3 separate regions of the Homo sapiens genome follow, and regions 1 and 3 are each linked to region 2. Evidence: promoter capture Hi-C in 16 types of primary human blood cells and fetal thymus (Javierre and others, 2016). All regions are on one chromosome and are shown on one strand. The core of a region is centred on a gene start or on the middle of the fragment in contact, and the rest is flanking DNA. Distances in the headings are between cores, read along the strand shown.

Region 1 (4,448 bases), core at 1,441-3,940, 680 kb after region 2:
AGAAGCTCCAGCCAGCAGTCAAGGGTCACAGTCTGAGCTTTCCAACTTTTGGAACGAAACAAGTCTCTGAATCTCAGCCTTTGTTTTCATTTAAAAACAGCAAGGCAATTTCTTTATATACTGAGATAACCTCTCATTCTTTCTGAACCATAATTAGTGCAGTGGCATCTTATTCATTATACAGAAGCAGAGAGAGAGGCAGATGAAGACTCTCAAACCAGAATCCAAATGCACAATGCCACAAACACTTTTGTTTGGCTCCCCAAAAGTCACGTTGACCTTTCCCATCACTGTGCCTCCACCTGCCTTCATAACATCAGAAGCATATTTGACTTTTCTCCAGGTAGCTTTGTCCAAGACAGCACACAACCTATAACTAATTCAACTTGTTTTATTTGTTTTTGTTTTGTTTTGTTTTTTTGACGGAGTTTCGCTCTTGGGGCCCAGGCTGGAATGCAATGGCATTATCTCGGCTCACTGCAACCTCCACCTCTCAGGTTCAAGGGATTCTCCTGCCTCAGCCTCCATAGTAGCTGGGATTACAGGCGCAGGCCACCACACCCGGCTAATTTTTTTGTACTTCTATTAGAGACGGGATTTCTCCATGTTGGTCAGGCTAGTCTCAAACTCCTCACCTCAGATGATTGCCCAACTCAGTCTCCCAAAATGCTGGGATTACAGGCGTGAGCCACCGCGCCCTTCCAGTCAGTCCAACTTTTAAGAGGCAAGACCACTGGGCGCAGTGTCTCACACCTGTAATCCCAGCACTTTGAGAGGCTCAGGCGGGCGGATCACCGGGTCAGGAGTTCGAGACCAGTCTGGCCAACATGGTGAAACCCCGTCTCTACTAGAAACACAAAAATTAGTCGGGCGTGGTGGTGCATGCCTGTAATCGCAACTACTCAGGAGGCTGAAGCAGGAGAATCACTTGAACCCGGGAGGCAGAGGTTGCAGTAAGCTGAGATCGCGCCACTGCACTCCAGCCTGGGCAACAGAGTGAGACTCTGTCTCCAAAAAAAAAAAAAAAAAAAAGAGGCAAGACCAAGATATTGATTGGCATCTGCTTAATTTCAAATCTTTAGGTATTGTGTAAGCCCTAGAATTCCCTTCACCATTTGTGAAGGTGGGTTCCTGACTTTGGGGCTAATATCCCAGGGCGAAAACAAGTATAAGAATCAATTTACTGCTGAAAAGGAAGGTTGCACTGGATTCACCCAGATCAACACCAAGATTAGTATTGAGATCTTGGCCAAGCGCTGTGGCTCAAGCCTGTAATCCCAGCACTTTGGGAGGCCGAGGCAGGCAGATCACCTGAGGTCAGAAGTTCGAGACCAGCCTGGCCATCATAGTGAAACCCCGTCTCTAACAAAAATACAAAAAATTAGCCGGGGGTGGTGGCACGCGCCTGCAGTCCCAGCTACTCGGGAGGCTGAGGCAGGAGAATGGCGTGAACCCGGGAGGCGGAGGCTGCAGTGAGCCGAGATCCAGCCACTGCACTCCAGCCTGGGCGACAGAGCGAGACTCCGTCTCAAAAAAAAAAAAAAAAAAAAAATACAAAAATTAGCCGGGGCTTGGTGGCACAAGCCTGTAATCCCAGCTACTCCTAAGGCTGAGGCAGAAGAATTGCTTGAATTCGGGAGACAGGGGTTGCAGTAAGCCGAGACCGCGCCACTGCACTCCAGCCTGGCCGACAGAGCGAGACTCTAGCTCAAAAAACAGAGATTTAACCCACTAAGCCGCGGTCTGAAAGCTTTTCCAAGTCCCAAAGTTCTTAGTTCACAATACCACAAGCAAAAGAAATTTTGTAAGCATGGATCTTAGCAAACTTTTAACTGTTTTTTAAAAAGTCCTTAACACCTTTAACGACAAAAAACAAAAACCAAAAACTAAGGCATGCTGCAACTTGGTGCCCCCAAATGGCCTTCTCGTCCAATCCTTCTTTCCCAAGTGGCCCCCAAGTACAAAACCCAACCAATTCGGGGTAAAGGCTGCTGGGATTCAGGCCGCCACCGGGCCCCTTCAGGGGATCTGCCCAGCGTAGAGGGCCACATCCCTAAACCCCACTTCAGGTGCCCCCTGTCCCTCCCCAGCACTGGAGAAAGCACCAGCAGAGAGAGTGCTTCAGCGGGGACATTTGGGCTCATCGCTAACTCCATTCCACGTACAGGAAAATAAAGACGGGGAAAGGGTACCCGAAGCTCCGCAGCTAGTCAAGGCTCAGGACCCGGAACAGCCAAATACATAGAGGCTGTCTTCTACAGCCACGAGTCTGGATACAGGTCCATTCCAGAAGCTTCCCGAACCCACCCCGTCCGGCAGGAGGCTAGTCTCGGAGACCCCCACCACCAGCCCGCCCAGACGCCGCGCCACGTGCTCGAGTTGCCGGGGGAAGACTCGACTCGAGTCCACGCTTGCCTTGGGGTTCAACCAGGTTCCCGCACCTACGTGGGGGGCCCACGAGAGGGGTGTGCGCAGCGCTCAAGCAGTCTCGGACTCCGGGCCTCCCCCGGCTGCCTCACGCATCACAGCACCCCCACCCGAGCGCGGGCGGGCCCCGGACAGGAGGAGGAAGAGGCAACAGGCAAGAAGGGCGCGCCGCGCCTCACTCCGCAGGGGCCGCACTGCCCACACTCACCAGTCCCAACACAAGTCGCAGAAACTAACCACCGACACCAGGCAAGAACAAGACGCGCAAGAGCTCTCCGGGGCGCTGCCTTTATAGCCAGTAGGGATCTCGCGAGAGTCGGAACGGACGGGGGTGCCGGAGGAGGAGAGAGAGGAGGGGGATGTGGCCCGAGCCCCGCCCGGCGCGCCCCGCCGGAATGACTCGGCGCTTTCCCTCGTTGGGGCGGGTGCGGAAAAATACTAATACCCCACCCTGTTGCGGATGGCTGAGGTTGGAGTGAGGCGCCCTTGTGGCCGCTCCCGAACCCGAACGCTTAGGTTAATCCTAGATCTCTGCGGAAAACCAGGATTCTCTTTACTTCCAGGACCACTACGCACTGTGCCCTCAATGCCCAAACTGGAGTAAGCGTCTTAGCTGCTGCCCACGGAGGACCACGTCTAACCACACCAAGCCATGAGAACTGTCTATCCAAATATTTCTTAAGTTCGCAGCCTTAACCCCAGCGCAGATCCTCAGTAACCCTCATGGCTTAGATAGCTTCCTTCATTGTTCTCTTTAATTACAGGGTTGCTGCTTTCTGTTGTAAAGGAAAATAAAATATCAGGACTCCTAAACTTACGCCAGAGGGAAAGTTCATCTTGGGAGGCTGATTCAGTTACACGACCATCCTCTCCCCGGATGAATAATTTGACTTTACAATCTTGAGTCAAAACATTACACATTAGCCAGACCCACACGGTAAGGCAAAAGGCCTCAGACATTTCCTGATGACTACCCCCCACAAACACACATACACAAAATCATAATTAATTATTTGCTCCCCTGGAAACCTTTAAAGTATGTAGCCTCCCATAAAACAAGGACGTGTCAATTGCAACTAGATCTACAATATAAAGTCTAGTTCCTAAAACTAAAGTTTGTTCTATTCCACATTTTTTTGAGACGGAGTCTCACTCACCCTGTCGCCCAGGCTGTAGTGCAGTGGCACGGTGTTGGCTTACTGCAACCTCCACCTCCCGGGCTCAAGCGATTCTCCCGCCTCACCTCCGGAGTGTCTGGGACTACAAGCACGCACCACCACGCCCAGCTAATTTTTTGTATTTTTAGTAGAGACGAGGTTTCATCATGTTGGCTAGGCTGGTCTCCAACGCCTGACCTCAGGTGATCCGCCCGCCTTGGCCTCCCAAAGTGCTAGGAATGTAAGCGCGAGCCACCGCACCTGGCCTCTATTCCACAAATTCCATAAATGTTCACTACTAGATTACCTTTCTACTAGACTACTTTCTACCTTTCTAGTAGTACCTTACTACTAGATTACCCTGAGTCCACCACATAATTGTTTTCTTCCTCCATTCCCTTTTTCTTCAAACATTCACCTTATCTTATGTAAAAATGTAGATTTAGGCCACCTAGGAGGGCGGATCATAAGGTCAGGAGATCGAGACCATCCTGGCCAACATGGTGAAACCCTGTCTCTGCTAAAATACAAAAACTTAGCCGAGTGTGGTGGCGCGCCTGTAGTCCTAGCTACTTGGGAGGCTGAGGCAGGGGAATCGCTTGAACCCGGAGGCAGAGGTTGCAGTGAGCCGAGAGCACCACTGCACTCCAGCCTGGCAACAGAGCAAGACTCCGTCTCAAAAAACAAAACGTAGATTTCCTGAGCATTAGCTAAAGTCTTTGCCTCAATCTTTCCCACCCCCACTTTTCAAGGAAAATGTATAAATACTAAAAACCTCCTGAGAACCTCTTGGGAAGAAACAGCCACAAAAGTGTCTGTGACATGGTTTAGTCAGTTTAGTCACTCATTTCAATTAACACTATC
Region 2 (4,209 bases), core at 94-2,593:
CCCCAAAGGCCAACAGTCCCAGAAAGAGCACTTTGCCACAATGTCTCTGGATCCCGCATCCCAGAGAGAAGAGCAGGCCCTGGAAGTAAGCACGAAGCCAGAGTGGAGCCTTCAGGCTCCCAGCTAGGATCTGGGATGGAAAGAGAAGGGTCAGCCAGGCATCACTGCAACAATGCATGAAATCCTTCCCTTCTCACCCTGTATATCTGCTGCCCAGCCCTCGCTTCTTGATTTCTGGATGTGGGACAGGGAGCACCAACACAGACACAGGCCCAGACTTGGAAGATGTAACACCCACCATCCCCAGCACACACCTGAGGAAGGCATAGGCCTATTTTCCTTTCTTTTCTTTTTGTTTTCTCTCCTTTTTTTTTTTTTTTTTTTTTTTGAGACGCAGTCTCGCTCTGTTGCCCTGGCTGGAGTGCAGTGGTGTGATCTCGGCTGACTGCAACCTCCGCCTCCCAGGTTCAAGAGATTCTCCTGCCTCAGCCTCCCGAGTAGTTGGGACTACAGGCGCCCGCCACCACGCCCTGCTAATTTTTTATTTTTAGTAGAGACAGAGTTTCCCCATGTTGGCCTGGCTGGTCTCGAACTCCTGACCTCAGGTAATCTGCCTGCCTCAGCCTCCCAGTGTTGGGATTACAGGCGTGAGTCACCGCGCCCGGCCGGCATAGGCCCATTTTCTGAGAGCAGGATACATATGTACACACACCTGTCGTCGGGTGGACACAGAGGTGAACCCACAGACATTCATTCTCACTGGCCAGACGATGAGGAGACACCGGCACAGACACACCGACACACACGCACAACTTGCTTGCGGTGCTGGCTCTCACTTGCCTTCAGACATCTAATGACACTCGGCACTTCAAGACATCACAAACCTTGCAGAGGCCCGAGTGACAGACCTGGCTCCGCTCTCTTCCTTCTTCCAGCTCCCCCTCTACTCACCTGGGGTGCTGCGGTTCGAGCTGGGGGTGTGTAACTCGGGGGCAGCTCTCTGAGGGGCGGCGATCGAGTCATGCTGGCGGGGATGGGGGGCGCGGGCGCCCCCAACCCGCGTTATCTGGGCGCTCCCATAGGCTAGCCCGGTCTCCCGGTACCGCTGGGCCCCGCGTAGGGATTCAGTGGGGCCGCCAAGGCGCGGGCGTGGGAGAGACTGTGGGGTGTGGGTGTTAAAGCGGCTGGGAGGGAGGAGTGCAGGGAGCTGCGGGTCCGGGGCGCGGCGCCGGGATTCACCCGCTCCGTGGGCCGTGGGCCGCGGCGGCTGGAGGAGGAATGGGTCCCGCGCGCAGGCGGAATTGCTGGCCCGAGACGCACAGCAGGGCTCGAGGTGGCAACTGCAGTCCCCGGGAGGCGGCTGGAGCTCCAGAAAAGGGAGCTGGCCGGGGCGACGCCCTCCCATTGGCTGAGGGGCCCGCAAATTACCCTAGCCGCGCGGCCCGGCCCGCTGCTAGGTAACGGCGCCGCAGGGGGCGGGGCGGGAGACCACCCAGGCTGGGCCACCCCGCGCCTCCCTCCCGCCCGCGGGGCCCCAGGGAGGAGGAGGGAGGGGGATCCCGGAGAGGCGCAGCGCCGGCCAAGTGTAAGTCCAGAGGCTTACGCTGAGAAAGGGCCTTTGCGGGCTCTGTTAGGGATACACTTTTTTTTTTTTTTTTAAGACGGGGTCTCACTCTGTCACCCAGGCTGGAGTGCAGTGGCTCCATCTCGGCTTGCAGGCTCCGCCTTCCAGGCTCAAGCCATCCTCCCACCTCAGCCTCCCGAGTAGCTGGGATCACAGGCATGCACCACCACGCCCGGCTTTTTGTATTTTTGGTAGAGAACGGGTTTCGCCATGTTGCCCCGGTTGGTCTCAGACTCCCGAGCTCAGGATATCCGCCCGCCTCAGCCTCCCAAAGTGTTGGGATGACAAGCGTGAGCCACCGCGCCCGGCCTAGGGCCACAATTTCTTTTTCTTTTCTTTTTTTTTTTTTTCAGGCTTAATTCACTTTATTTTTCTTGTATAAAAACCCTATGTTGTAGCCACAGCTGGAGCCTGGATCCTCTGCGCGGAGACTCTGGTGTGGGTCTTGACGAGGTGGTCAGTGAATTCCTGATAGGGAGACTTGGTGAATACAGTCTCCTTCCAGAGGTCGGGGGTCAGGTAGCAGTAGGTCTTAGAGATGGCATCAAAGTGGGTAGGGCCACACTTTCTTTCCGACCCAATCAAAGCCCAAGATTTCTTCTGTTCACTCTTCCCGGCTTCCATTCTTGCCCTCTTCAGTCCACTCTCTCCACTGAGACCAGAGTCATTTCTCTAACATGCAAATCTGATAGCTCCAAAGCACAAGGCCCACTTGGAGCACAGGGCCCTGTGTGATCTAGCTAAAGCCTTCTCTCCCATAGTTCCCTCACATCAGTGTTCCCTCGTTCCTGCCTTTGTACATGTTTTGGTCCTTTTGTCTTGGCAGATAATCTTCAAAAACTGAACTTGAATCACCCCCAAAACCCACCTTTTTTTTTTTTTTTTTGAGGCAGGATCTCCCTCTGTTGCCCAGGTTGGAGTGCAGTGGTGCCTTCACAGCACACTGCAGCCTTGAGCTCCCAGTCTCAAGGGATCCTCCCACCTCGACCTCCCAAATGGCTGGGACTACAGGTGTGCACCACCACACCTAGCTAATTTTTGTAATTTTGTATAGACAGGGTTTTGCCATGTTGCCCAGGTTGGTCTCAAACTCCTGGGCTCAGGTCATCTGCCCACCTGGGCCTTCCAAAGTGCTGGAATTATAGGCGTGAGCCACTGTACCCAGCCTACCCCCTCTTTGAAACCTTCCTTGATTCATGTCTCTCTCCTGGCAGATAATTGCTTCTTTGTGCTCTGCATAACAACTCAATTTATATATGTATAATTGCATTTATGACACAAAAACTTATGTACTTGAAAGTCTGCCTTCTTCACCAGACAATAAATAGGTGCTTAATAATTGTTGAGTGAGTCACTAAGAGTTGCAGAATTCAGGGTGTAAAGGATTGGAAATTGGGAAGAATAGAGGCAATAGTCCCTCTATTAAACTTTCAACTATCCTATCTGAGTGTGCTGTTTCTATTGGGTTCCTGATTGATAAACCTCAAGTGGCAGAGTAGGGTAAAATCAATATTCCAATATGTAAAGTTTGAGAAAGAGAAAATGAATCTACAATAAGCTAATTTTTCTAACACAACTACTATTATCTCTGGCAAATTTCTTGGTCAGTTCTTCCAGACTTAAAAAAAATCATTCCATCATAAATATTTCATGTTACTATGTAGTTTTTGTAATCAATCATTTGGAGAATATCCTTAGGACAGATTCCCAGAAGTGGGTTGTTTGGGTCAAAGAGTATGAACATTTTTATGGCTCTTGATACACACTGCTCAACTGATTTTTTGAAAGCTTGTGCAAATTAACATCATCTCTAGAGCCTCAGTCCTGGGGAAGAGGAACATTTAGGTTGAAGGGGTGAACACCTAACAGGTTTGCCATTTCCATTTGTCCATTCACCCAGAAAAATGCCTATGGAGGAACTAATATATGTATGATGCTGTTGGCCAAACAGTAACTGCACATGAAAAGCAGCCTACCTGAATAGCACTTTCTTCTCCCTGTTATAGAGTGTGTCCTGCTGAGCATAAAGTGGCATGGTAGCTCATGCTTGTAATCCCAGCCCTTTGGGAAGCTGAGGCGGGAGGATTGCTTGAGGCCAGGAGTTCAAGCCCTGGCAACATAGTGAGACCCCATCTCTACAAAAAATAAAAAATTAGCTGGGTGTGGTGGCGCACACCTGTAGTCCCAGCTACTTGGGAGGCTGAGGCAGGAGAGTTGATAGAGGCTGCAGCGAGCTGTGATTGTGCCATTGCACTCCAGCCTGGGCGACAAAGTGAGACCCTGCCTCAAAAAACAATAATAATGATAACATAAAAAATTTAAGGTTAAAAAGAACTGTACCCCTAGCAAGTCTCTGAAATAGAAACAGCCTCTAACTTAAGTCTGTATGGGCCCCTAGTTTGCTCTTGGGGCAATAGCTGAAGACAGGGAGTGGCCTGGACTCAGCACTGGTTGTCATCAGGAGTACAACTCCCGATGCTATGCTTTAAGTAAGTCTTAATCTCCTTCCTTTTTACCAGACTCTGCAAGACATAAGGTCCATGGATAAATAGATTTGTAACCACTTGGGCCTTGGGACTCTGCTT
Region 3 (4,164 bases), core at 1,086-3,585, 740 kb after region 2:
CTCCAACTCCTGGGTTCAAGTGGGTCTCTTGCCTCAGCCTCCCAAGTAGCTGGGATTACAGGAGCCTGCCACCACTCCCGGCTAATTTTTGTATTTTTAGTAGAGATGGTGTTTCACTATGTTCGCTAAGCTGGTCTCGAACTCCTGACTTCAAGTGATCCGCCTGCCTCAGCCTCCCAAAGTGCTGGGATAACAGGCACCTGCTACCACGCCCAGCCTAAAATATATTTTAAAATATATTTCTCTGAGTTCCTCAAGGTAGAGTCCATGTCTTTTGTCCCCAGAACCTAGTACAAAGTCTTGTACCTCAAAGTTGCTCAGTGAATATTAATTTAATGGATGAATCGGTCACACCAGTAATTGCAGAGGTTTTCTCAGGCCCTAGCCCTGGCTGCAAGGACTTTGGAGAGATCTCCCCTCCCAACACCCTCCATTTACCACATCATCAGACTGTGGTAGCCATTCAATGAGTGCTTAGCGTGAATTCTACACAGTGCTAATTACCTGTAATTCTCACAATGTCCTTAAGCGGTGGCTACTAATATGTCTTCATTTTACACTTAACCTTAATCCCAGCTACTCGATTACAATCCGGGTTACGTGACCTGGCTCACGTCACCTAGCTAATAATGGAAGAGCCCATGTATGTTTGCCATAGGAATTGGCATTTTCACGTCCAGCTCTCTAGCCCCAAAGATTTCAACCTCTTCGAGCCTTGACAGATTGGAATAAGAATCCTCTCCAGGAATCTTTCCCAATATGCTGGAACCTAAAGGGAAATAAAAACCCCTACTCCGATCAGCGTAGACTGGGCCATGGTGAAAAGGAATGGATGATACTCCAGGTGTGAGGAATTGCAGCTTTTTAGCCTGCCAGTTATTTTTCACTCAGCCATTTGCAGGAAATGAGGCACACTGCTTTCCATAACTGATTTGTCTTGCAACTTTCTGAACAAGTCACAGCTTCCCCTTTTTTTTTTTTTTGAGACGGAGTCTCGCTCTGTTGCCCAGGCTGCAGTGCAGTGGCGAGATCTCGGCTCACTGCAACCTTTGCCTCCCGGGTTCAAGTGATTCTCCTGCCTTAGCCTCCCGAGTAGCTGGGATTACAGGAGCCTGCCACCACACCTGGCTAATTTTCGTATTTTTAGTAGAGACGGGGTTTCACCATGTTGGCCAGGTTGGAACCTTGGCCTATTTATTTATTTATTTTTGAGACGGAGTTTCGCTCTGTTGCCCAGGCTGGAGTGCAGTGGCGAGCTCTCGGCTCACTGCAACCTCTGCCTTCCGGGTTCTAGTATTCTCCTACCTCAGCCTCCCGAGTAGCTGGGATTACAGGCGCCCGCCACCACGCCCGGCTAATTTTTGTATTTTTTAGTAGAGACGGGGGGGTCTCACCATCTTGGCCAGGCTGGTCTTGAACTCCTGACCTCGTGATCCACCAGCCTAGGCCTCCCAAAGTGCTGGGATTACAGGCGTGAGCCACCGCGTCCGGCCCCTTGGTTTATTTTTCTAAGAAACAGACTAACACTGATCTCACTAGTAGCATTGTTAATATTAAACAAGATAGCTAATAGCTTTAAAGCGTCTAATCACGGTACCCCCACGAGTAGTAGTCACACAGCAAATCATAGGCAGGAGTGGACAAACAGCGCTGGGAGCATTAATTCTGGTAGATTTGGAGTCTGGGCAGGGCCTAAGAGGATGGGATCAGCGGATTGGGCCAGCCAAAGGGGGCGGGTTCAGAGGGAGGAGCCAGCTGCCTCCCGCTGCAAGCCCCGAGCTTTGAATCAAGCGCGGTAGTTTCAGCTGTAGCCAATCCTAGAACAAAATCTTTTTGCGTCAGTTGTTGCTGAGGCCTAGATCTCACCCAGATCAGTTCTAGTCGCTGCTGCTTGTACCCGTCCTCGGCCCTTGCGTGTCCGTCCGTTACGACTCAGAGGACGGAGAGAAAGTCTAAGTCACCTTCCTCAGTATCCAGGCCGGAAGGAGACTCTCAGCTACTCGCCCTGAACATGCAGAGCAGCACTGGCTTCCCTGTCTCTGGATGCCGCAGGGGCGTCCTGTCAGGAGTTGTAGTGTCAAGATTCCAGTTCTTCTTATGCGACTTGCTGGAGAAGCAGGAAGTTGCTGTTTATTGGAGAAGTCGGGCTAGGGAGGGAAACAATCCCGCGGAGCCATATGGAGAGGGCAGGAGGTGTCTAGATAGTGGTAGGCCGGCGGGGGACGGAGGGTATGGGTGGTGAGTCCTGGCCCTTTAAACCCGAGGGGGAGGATCCGGAAGTGGATGGGCGGGGCGAAGGGTCCTCGTATATAAAAGGGCCCCGGCCGCGCGGGGTCTCTAATCTGCCATTTTCTGTCCCTGAGTGAGTCTCTGGCGTCCCAAATTGCCTGTTTTTCTCGCAGGCTCTATTCCGTTCGCTGGTTCGCCACCTCAGGGGAACGATGGCCATGGAGTCCACAGCCACTGCCGCCGTCGCCGCGGAGCTGGTTTCTGCCGACAAGTAAGCGGGACTGTGGAAAGCTTAAGGCACTGGCCAGTCCGCGGGGAGGGCTAATGGACGGGGGCTCCGGAGAAGGGGCAGACCGGTGGGCGGGAGTACTTGCCTTCCCAAGAGCAGCTGTCGCTGTTCGGGAAGGCCTGGTCACTGGAGCAGTCCTTCTTTTGCTGAGAGCCTCGCGCAGCAGCGGTAACGGCGGTCGGCTGGCGCCCCCTGCCCCGCTTTTCGCGGCCGCCATCTTGCCGGGGGCAGCGGCGGCTGTATCCTTCGCCTGCCCCTCTCCTTCCTCCCCCAGCCCGGGGCGGTTGGCCGGGAGGCGGGGCCCTGGCGCGCGGGTTGGCCTTCACGCCCCTTCTGTCCCCAGCGTGTGCCTCTGGTAGAACCCCTGGATAACCCGGGAATATAACCAACGAAGATTTGGCGCCAAAAGGGAAAAAAAACCTTGCACGAGGAAGGAGGCTGGACCTGAGGGGTCGGGGTGGGCGGGGCCTTGCTGAGGGCGGGGTTTTGCGCGCGTGCGTTCGCTTCCCTCGCCGGCCCTGGGGCAGGGGGCGGGGCCTTGAGGAGGCGGGAAAACTCCATTGTTTGGGGCCGCTGCGGCTCCAGCAGGAGCTTTGGACTATCTCCGTGGGGCCGGCGAGGCTAGTTCCCCCCGACACCTCGCTCACGTCTTGTGCTGGGAGATAGTTATCGCTCCCCGCGACTCCGTGAGCCCCTGCCTGTGGTGGGGAGGATTGTCGTTCTTTAGACTTTGGAGGTGGTGTCTGTTTGGGGGGAACATTACCGGACGTAAAGCGTCTTCAGGAAGCGCTGTCTGGAGCTCTCACCAGCACTGTTTGGTTGCTAGGTGAATCGGCAGTAGTATGCACGAAGTGGAGAAGGACTGGAGGGAAACAAGATAGGATTGTTTTGAAAGCGGCACAGTGCCACTCAGGCGTAATCTGTTTTTTGAACAGTGGAGGGAAACACTACACGAGTTCAAGGAAACAAGTGCTGTTTCCCATACAGTAGGTCTGATTTCCCAATCTTGCCATATTTTTTTAGGCATCTGGTTCTATTTTTTTTTCTAATCTTGTGCGCTTTAGAGGTTAGTTGCCTTCCCTGTAAAAGGAATGGTTGCTGTGAAGTTTTTTAAATTGATATTCTATAGGCTTACACTCTGTCATGATTATGTCTTTGTTTGTTTATAGTTAGAGATTTACGTATATCTCTGCTTACCACCTTTTCTCTCTGCGTTCTTGTAGAGCAGTGGTTCTCAAGTCACCCTGAGAATCATTTGGGAACTCATGGGAAATACAATTTTAATTTCAAACTCCCATTACCTGCCTCTTTCCCCATTGATTCGATATAAGCAGTATAGATTGGGCTTGGGAGTCGTGCTATAGCTATTATAAAAAGAGCTGCTTTTTATAATGTTTCCTAGACAGCTCTAGCAGTCAGTATTTCACTGACAGCTGTGTGTTTTTGTTTTGTTTTTGCAGACAGGGTCTGGATCTCACATCCAGACTGGAGTGTAGTGTTGTGATCATAGCTCACTGCAACCTCGAACTCCTGGGCACAACTGATCTTCCCTAGTAGCTTGGGACTACAGGTGTGCCACTACACCTGGCCAATTTTTTGTAGATACAAGGTCTTAATGTTGCCCAGGTTGGTCTCAGACTCTTGGA

The links. The method cuts DNA at HindIII sites, captures the fragments that hold promoters and counts their contacts. A CHiCAGO score of 5 or more calls a contact.
Region 1: the fragment with the promoter of PRDX1 here is called in contact with the fragment with the promoter of PTCH2 in region 2 in 1 of 17 cell types (naive CD4 T cells); the score reaches 6.0 in naive CD4 T cells.
Region 3: the fragment with the promoter of NASP here is called in contact with the fragment with the promoter of PTCH2 in region 2 in 2 of 17 cell types (neutrophils and total B cells); the score reaches 7.0 in neutrophils.

The regions. Positions count from the first base shown.
Region 1 is chr1:45,519,194-45,523,641 of GRCh38, forward strand. It overlaps PRDX1 (peroxiredoxin 1), which reads right to left and starts at 2,691. Exons shown (of 6, transcript NM_181697.3): 1 at 2,636-2,691. RefSeq lists a silencer at 1,885-2,047 and an enhancer at 3,090-3,169. The HindIII fragment of the contact is 8,348 bases long and covers 2,292-4,448 here.
Region 2 is chr1:44,841,910-44,846,118 of GRCh38, forward strand. It overlaps PTCH2 (patched 2), which reads right to left and starts at 1,344. Exons shown (of 22, transcript NM_003738.5): 1 at 952-1,344; 2 at 1-130. The coding sequence starts at 1,023. RefSeq lists a silencer at 1,290-1,559. The HindIII fragment of the contact is 9,661 bases long and covers 1-3,410 here.
Region 3 is chr1:45,581,706-45,585,869 of GRCh38, forward strand. NASP (nuclear autoantigenic sperm protein) reads left to right here and starts at 2,336. Exons shown (of 15, transcript NM_002482.4): 1 at 2,336-2,500. The coding sequence starts at 2,442. RefSeq lists enhancers at 952-1,001, 1,412-1,471, 1,922-2,231 and silencers at 1,762-1,821, 2,732-3,031. The HindIII fragment of the contact is 9,802 bases long and covers 1-2,518 here.